Regions from separate parts of the Homo sapiens genome. Here region 2 is linked to region 1. The links are contacts of gene promoters, found by promoter capture Hi-C in blood cells and fetal thymus (Javierre and others, 2016). All regions are on one chromosome and are shown on one strand. Each heading gives the region's core, a stretch centred on a gene start or on the middle of the fragment in contact. The rest is flanking DNA. Distances are from core to core; before and after follow the strand shown. Region 1 holds the start of SLC39A11 (solute carrier family 39 member 11). Region 2 overlaps VCF1 (VCP nuclear cofactor family member 1).

Evidence for each region. The method cuts DNA at HindIII sites, captures the fragments that hold promoters and counts their contacts. A CHiCAGO score of 5 or more calls a contact.
Region 2: a contact is called between a fragment that was not itself captured here and the fragment with the promoter of SLC39A11 in region 1, in 1 of 17 cell types (neutrophils). The highest score is 5.2, in neutrophils.

The regions. Positions count from the first base shown.
Region 1 is chr17:73,090,274-73,094,099 of GRCh38, forward strand. It overlaps SLC39A11 (solute carrier family 39 member 11), which reads right to left and starts at 2,415. Exons shown (of 10, transcript NM_139177.4): 1 at 2,338-2,415. RefSeq lists an enhancer at 1-373 and a silencer at 1,344-1,575. The HindIII fragment of the contact is 20,423 bases long and covers 1-3,826 here.
Region 2 is chr17:73,223,812-73,227,630 of GRCh38, forward strand. It overlaps VCF1 (VCP nuclear cofactor family member 1), which reads right to left. Exons shown (of 4, transcript NM_001098832.2): 2 at 3,354-3,453. Among named protein-coding and RNA genes, the nearest start is that of VCF1, 6.7 kb to the right of the region's middle. The HindIII fragment of the contact is 3,043 bases long and covers 618-3,660 here.

The sequences.
Region 1 (3,826 bases), core at 1,165-3,664:
GTGAGCCCTGGCTCAGCCCCTGTGCCAGAAACTCTGAGATAAATAGCATCTATGGAATCAGACTCTAGTTCCCGCACTCTAAACGAACTGCACCAACTGTGAAAACTGTGACCACGCCAATTAAAGAAAAAAAAAATCATTTTCAAAAAACTACTACCCTTTACATCCGTCATCTTGCTAAGCCACCCTAAAAAGAGGGGTTGGTCTTTGTTTTTAAACCAAGCCATCTGGACCATTACACCAATCATCTATTCCGAGTTGCTGTGGACAAAATTTCAAACAGCATTTACAAAGAACAGCACAAAGGGATCATCCTCTTAGTACTTATCATCCAAGACAGGGCATAACAAAAACACCTTTCTTTCCTGTATTTGAATGTGCCTCTTGACAGCTACAGAAGAGAGCAAACAATTTACATTTGCCAACAGGCCAAAGTCAATGTGGATCTTGTGGGCTGGTGAACAGAACAGAGGGAGCTCGTGGGTGTTCCTGGTGGTTAGTGGGATAGGGAAACACCCGTCTAAGCCTGTCCCCATGTATATCTGAGCACCCTCCTGAGTAAGAAAAAGGGACACAGAGGGAAGACCGAGGCCACCATCCTTTCCATCCCAACAGGAGCAGCATTGATCACGGGCAATGCAAGCCCAGTGCCCCTCGGAGAAGTTTCTTCTCTATTTGCTGTTTTAAATCCTCGCTACAAGGGTGGTCAGAGAACCAGCAGCACTGGTCCGGCTTGGGAGCTAGTTAGGAATGCAGAAACTCAGGTCTCACCCCAGACTTTCTGAATCAGGGTCTGCATTTTGTGGAATTCCATGGGGGATTCTTATGCACATTAAACTGTGGAAAGCAAAAGATTAAAACTGGTAAAACTTGGCCAGGCGCAGTGGCTCATGCCTGTAATCCCAGCACCTTGGGAGGCCAAGACGGGCAGATCACCTGAGGTCAGGAGTTCGAGACCAGCCTGGCCAACACGGTGAAACCCCATCTCTACTAAAAACACAAAAATTACTTGGGCGTCGTGGTGTGTGCCTGTAGTCCCAGTGCCTGTAGTCCCAGCTACTCGGGAGGCTGAGGCAGGAGTAATCGCTTGAACCCGGGAGGCGGAGGTTGCAGTGAGCCGAGATCGCGCCACTGCACTCCAGTCCGGGTGACAGAGCAAGGCTCTGTCTCAAAAAAAAATAAAAATAAATAAATAAATAAAACTGGTAAAACTTCTACAATACCAAGAGCTTAGAAAATGAGTTCTCCTGCCCCATGTGGGATTGGCAAGAGCAAAGAAGAGTCCCAAAAGAACAGAAAGTTTTCTGCAGAGTCTCAAGAGAAGAAAAAGTTTCTGGCAGAGTCCCAAGAGAACAAGAAGTTTTCTCTAACCGGCAGACCAGTAACAACTTTAGGACACAGCATCTCCATCACAGCTTACACAATGGGGCTCAGAATTCCTCACGATGGGGATATTAATTCCATCAACCCTGATTCGTTAGCAGCAGGGAGAATCATTCTCTGACCGTTCCAACTTTTAACATGCCAACAGCCTGTAGACTTGTACACACCTGCCACAGCAGCACATGGGCATTCCCGGCTGATTGATACAGGTTTGTTTTCTTTATTTCCTTTCTCCCCCTTTTAAACCTGTTGTTCCGCTTCCAAGAGTCAGTTCAAGAGGCTGGTGAAGTTGCAGAAGTGGAAACAGCACTAGGGCTGCTGGGCCTTAGTGGAGCTGCACACACATGCCCTAACTCCACGAGGGGGAATCCAGCAGAAGGATTCAGGTCTGGGCGGAGAGGACTGTGGAAAAGTTCTCTAATGCCTCGCTACTCAAAGCGTGGTCCGCGGACCACCCAACCTGGGAATTAGTTAGAAATGCACACTGTCACGCCCCACCCAGACCTGCTGCAAGTTAACCAGATTCCCAGTCAAGTTCCAGAGGTCCAGCTAACAGCCAGAGCAAGTGGGAGGGGCCTGGGAGCAGCTGGATTTGTAGCTGCCTCTGCTCCCAGGAATCCCGGGTACCCCCACACACCGCCTAGGAAGGGACGAACGAAGAGGATTTGGGTTAGGACTGTAAAAGGAAGGCATGTCATTGCCTTCCAGATCACCCTGGAGAGGGACATAGCCGGGGTCCGGGGACTTCCTTCCCACCGCCCCTCACCCTCCCACCCCGCCCCGACACCTGCCAAAGCCTCCAATTTCTCCTCCAAACCCCTCCTCTCTCCAGGCGTACCCCCTTCCAAGCTCCAGGTGGCTGCCCTTCCAAGTCCCACACTCTTGTCCTGATGGCCTCCGACCCCGGGCCTCGAGCCCAACCAAAGGCACCGAAGGAGAGAAAAGCCAACTCACTAGGGTGCCCTCTCCAGCCCCCACTGCACTTCCATCAGCCCCCGCTGCCACTCTCTCGCCGGCTCCACTCCCGCAGTCACTTCCTGCTTCCCTCCCGCACACGTGGCCCTCCCGCCTCCGGGCCCCGCCCCCTTGGCCGCAACTGGCAACTCCCGCCTGAAGAATAGATTCTCTGGTTCACAGCCGTCTGCAGGCTCAGGAACAGATCTGGGCGGGCAGAACAGAGCCCTGAGGCCAAGAGCCCAGCAGTCTGCGAGTGACTGCAGCCCTAAGGGAAGCTACAAACACCCAAGGAAAGAGCCCTTTGTAACACCCCTGATGTTACTTATGCTTCTACACCTTTGGCAGCCAGGTCCATGCCACTGGGTGCGCAGCAGAGCAGGATGTGCTGTGTGTGTGTTGCGGGAGAGGCTGGGGGCGGGTAATGTGATGGCATCGGCATCATTCTCCAGTCAATGACCCTCAAAAGAATCACTGGAGGGGGTCAAACACAAAATGCCAGCACCCCCAGAGGCTCTGGTTCCGTCATTCTGGGTGGGGCTGACATTTTGGGATTTTTTTGTTTTTGCTTTTGTTTTTTTGAGATGGAGTCTCGCTCTTTCGCCCAGGCTGGAGTGCCGTGGCCCAATCTCGGGTGATTGCAGCCTCTGCCTCCTATGTTCAAGCGATTCTCCTGCTTCAGCCTCCCGAGTAGCTGGGATCACAGGTGCATGCTGCCAAGCCCCGCTAATTTTTGTTTTTTTTTTTTTTTTTTTTTTTTTTTAGTAGGGACGGGGTTTCACCACGTTGCCCAGGCTGGCCTCGAACCCCTGACCTCAAATGATCCACTCGTGTGGGCCTCCCAAAGTGCTGGATTATAGGCATGAGCCACCGCGCCTGGCCTGAGATCTTGTTTTGAGCTAGGAGTTGCTGATGCTGCTGTCCTGGGACCACCCTTTGAAAAGCACTGCCCTAGGTCAAAGGCTTTGATCTGCAGGATTTCTGTGAAAAGACCAGAGGATAGGATTGACTAGATTTAGCCAAAAACAAAACAAAATAAATAAATAGATAGAAACAAGATGCCTGGGCTGGGCGCTGTGGCTCACGCCTATAATCCCAGCACTTTGGGAGGCCGAGGCGGGCAGATCACAACGTCTGGAGATCGAGACCATCCTGGCTAATACGGTGAAACCCCGTCTCTACTAAAAATACAAAAAATTAGCTGGGCGTGGTGGCAGGCGCCTGTAGTCCCAGCTACTCGGGAGTCTGAGGCAGGAGAATGGCGTGAACCCGAGAGGCCGAGCTTGCAGTGAGCCAAGATCACGCCACTGCACTCCAGCCTGGGCAACAGAGCAAAACTCCATCTCAAAAAAAAAAAAAAAAGCCTGATTAAATTTGAATTTCAGAAAAATAACGTCATTTATTACTATAAATATGCCCCGGGCAATGTGTGGGACATACTTATGTTACAGGCATATTTGTTGTTGATCTGAAACTGAAACCCAGCTGA
Region 2 (3,819 bases), core at 889-3,388, 130 kb after region 1:
TCTACAAAAAATTAAAAAAATTAGCCAGGTTTGGTGGCACATCCCTGTAGTCCCAGCACCTCAGGAGGCTGAAGAGGAAGGATCATTTGAGCCCAGGAGGTTGAGGCTACAGTGAACCATGATCATTCCACTGCACTCAGCTTGGGCAACAGAGGGAGCCCCTGCCAGAAAGAAAAGAAAGAAAGGGAGGAAGGAAAGGAGGGAGGGAAGAAGGGAGGGAGGGAGAAAGGAAGAGAGGAAGGAGGGGAAGAGAAGAAAGTGGAGGGGAGGGGATGAGAAGGTAGGGGAGAGAAGGGGAGGGGAGAACAGAGGGAAGGAAGGAAGGGAATTCTAGCCAGGCATGGTGGCTCAAGTCTGTAATCCCAGCATTTTGGGGAGGCTGAGGTGGGAGGATCGCTTGAGCCCAAGAGTTCACGACCAGCCTGGGCCATATAGTGAGACGTCGTCTCTCCAAAAAAAAAAAAAAAAAAAAAACCTTAAAAAATTAACCCAGCATGGTAGCATGTGCCTGTAGTTCCAGCTACTTGGGAGGCTGATGTAGGAGTATTGCTTGAGCCTGGGAGGTAGAGGTTGCAGTGAGCTGAGATCACACCACTGCACTCCAGTCTGGGTGACAAAGCTTATTCATTCAGGGAAAACATAGGAAATGGTTTCTCTTACATAACTTAAGTTTCAAGGAAACTGACCTCATGGCCCTACCTCAGAATTAAAAGAAAACATTTTCATTAGTAATGTTATTAATAAAATATTTTGTCTAAATTGTTAATATAATTAAAAATGAATTGTTTTATTTTCCCTTTTATACACAATCATCAAAAACCAGCCAAATGTCCCTAAACTTGATTTTTTGCTGCTACAAACATAATCATTTATTCCAGTAGTGAAAACTTCATTATTTGGGGCTTAACTTTCCATTTTAAAAGATATTCCCTCTGCCTTTTGCTTCTCTGGCTCTCTCATCATTCACTTGTCCTTGTTACTTGTTAATACCACTGCCAGGAAGCACAGCGCAGCACAGCACAGCACAGCACAGGACAGGACAGGACAGGACAGCACAGGACAGGACAGCACAGCACAGGACAGGACAGGACAGGACAGGACAGGACAGGACAGGACAGGACAGCACAGCACAGCACAGCACAGGACAGGACAGCACAGCACAGCACAGCACAGCACAGCACAGGACAGGACAGGACAGCATAGGATAGGACAGGACAGGACAGCACAGGACGGCACAGCAGGCTATTCTGGTCAATGTTCAGTAAGCAAGGCTGAAACTAATGGTTGTAACACCCCATTAGGTGATCTACCAGTGAGTTCAGACAGAAACTACCAGTAATGACCTTAAACGATAAGGAAGACAATCTAGTCCTTCCTTCAGATAATGATTACGGAGTGGCTCAACAACTGAATTTCTTTGGACAAGTAAGGACAAGCTCAGCTAGAGAACCCAGGAGGTTGAGTAACAAGACGTTGTTTTCTTCTGTGAGACCAATGCACGGATTTTAGAAAGAGAGTAAAGGTCATTTTGTACCAAAAACTAAATAAATAAATAAATAAAATTTAAAAATCTACAATATCTGCCTTACTTAAGAGATCAGAAATGTTAATTTTTTTAAAAAAGGATGACAATTTCTTTCTTTTTTTTTAACCAAGAGACAAAAGCAAGAAAAAGATGGCAATTTCTATTGCTGTTCTCAGGCTTCAAAACTGGCAGATACGGGAAAAAAACGTTAATACAGAGAGTTAGACCTACCATACCCTTGACTGAAATGAACATCATATAGCAGGACTTACATACAGACACAAGTAAGGAAATACTGATGGCCAACACCATAGAAGTAATCTTTGCATACTCTTTTAATGAATAGTCTTACAATTCAAAAGAATGGAAACTCAATTACTATTACAGGGTTTTATCATTAGATATTCATGGTAGCCTCTAATCTTGTTTTCTTTCATCCCTGAGATTCCCAACTATTACATTAAACAAAGCTCAATTACCTTTCTGATAATCATTTTTTAAAAAGAAAAGAAAAAAGCAAATAGGAAAAAAATATATATATATATAATATATATATATATATATTTTTTTTTTTTTTTTTTCTGAAACGGAGTCTTGCTCTGTTGCCCAGGCTGGAGTAAAACGGCACGATCTCAGCTCACTGCAACCTCTGCCTCCTGGGTTCAAGCCATTCTCCCACCTCAGCCTCCCAAGTAGCTGGGATTACAGGCGTGCACCACCACACCCAGCTAATTTTTTGTATTTTTAGTAGAGATGGGGTTTCACCATGTTGGCCAGGCTGGTCTCGAACTCCTGACCTCGTGATCTGCCCACCTTGGCCTACCAAAGGGCTGGGATTATAGGGATGAGCCACTGCGCTCGGCCAGGAAAATATTTGAAGAGGAAAAACAGCTATAGAAACTCAGGTCTCCACACAGAAGGATTCTACTCTGCACTTGTTCACTGTCTCTGAATGACTGTTACCTACATGAAAGTTCCTGATTTTTCCCCCTTGGGGGAGTTACTTTGAATTGCTGGCAAAGACAGACTGGATATAGGTCAAATCCTATTATCAGGAACTAATTAAAGTACAAATTATTTGGGTGTGGGAGAATTCTACTGTGAGTTATGAGGCTAGGGCTCTTTGTTGTTGAGGCTTTTCTCTTAGTGTGACAACTGTTAAGGGTCAAAATCTCTAGGTGCATAACTTAATAGCAGCATTACTTTATATTGGTTTCCTTTCCCCAGCACAGAGCAGCCTTCCAATTGCACAGAAAATGTATCCTCAGTCTGCGTACTGAAGCACTCTTTCATGAAATCAAAAATTGTAAAAAAGTTCCAGAACACCCAACTCCCCTTCCCTCTCACCACAGGAGCTCTTTTCACAACAAGATAATGAAAAGTAAAAACACTGAGAAATGGGATTCTGCATACACATACCTTACATATTTTACATGCTTAAAGTTTCTCTTAAAAGGCATTTGAATTGAAGCAACAAAATATGTTTATCTTAAGGACAATTCATGGTTTATAAACTACCAGAAAAGAAGTTCGCTGCTGAAATACAAAACAGTGAGTTCAAACATAGGCTTTCAAAAAGCCACGAAATTTCTAACAAATACAAATGAGTGTGTACATATATGACTATGTGCACATATGTACTGTTTTGCTGGGGACAGGGTACACAGCTTCCTCAAAGGGACCCTGATTTGGAAACAGAAAGGTTAAACCAGTATAATCAACTAAGGTCATTTTAAATTACTGTTTAAGTAAATTTAATTACACAGCAGATACTAGGTTATTTAACTCAAGCAGTGAAAACAACAGACTATGTGACCACACTTCCTACCTCTGTGTCCCAGGAATCCTGAAAGACAGGGTTTCTGCTACTTCTTTTGGTCTGGGGGGGAAGATGGTTGTCTTCTTCGTTGCCATTCCTTCTCCTTTTCCTGAAATTAAATCACAAGGAGAAAAAAAAAAAAACCCAAACAACCGATGTTTTGGACACTTGAATTGCAAACCATAACAACATATAAATTTGCCCTCTGGCCTGAGAAAACATAATTCAGCATATGATATCCCAATAGGTTATCAGTTGGAAGTACAGCATCACTGGACACTAAGAGCAAAAATACAAGACAGCAGCAGCGAGGTCAAGCTTAAGTTAGTAAAACTCATTTCTAAAAAGAAGCTTAACAATTTTAAATGTCTGTTGGGACTGAAACAAGAACAGGAAGAGGTTAATGACTAAGCTTTCAACCTCTAACCTAATTAAGGTTTTCTTCTTTTTACACTCCCTGAAATTAGGATTCCGA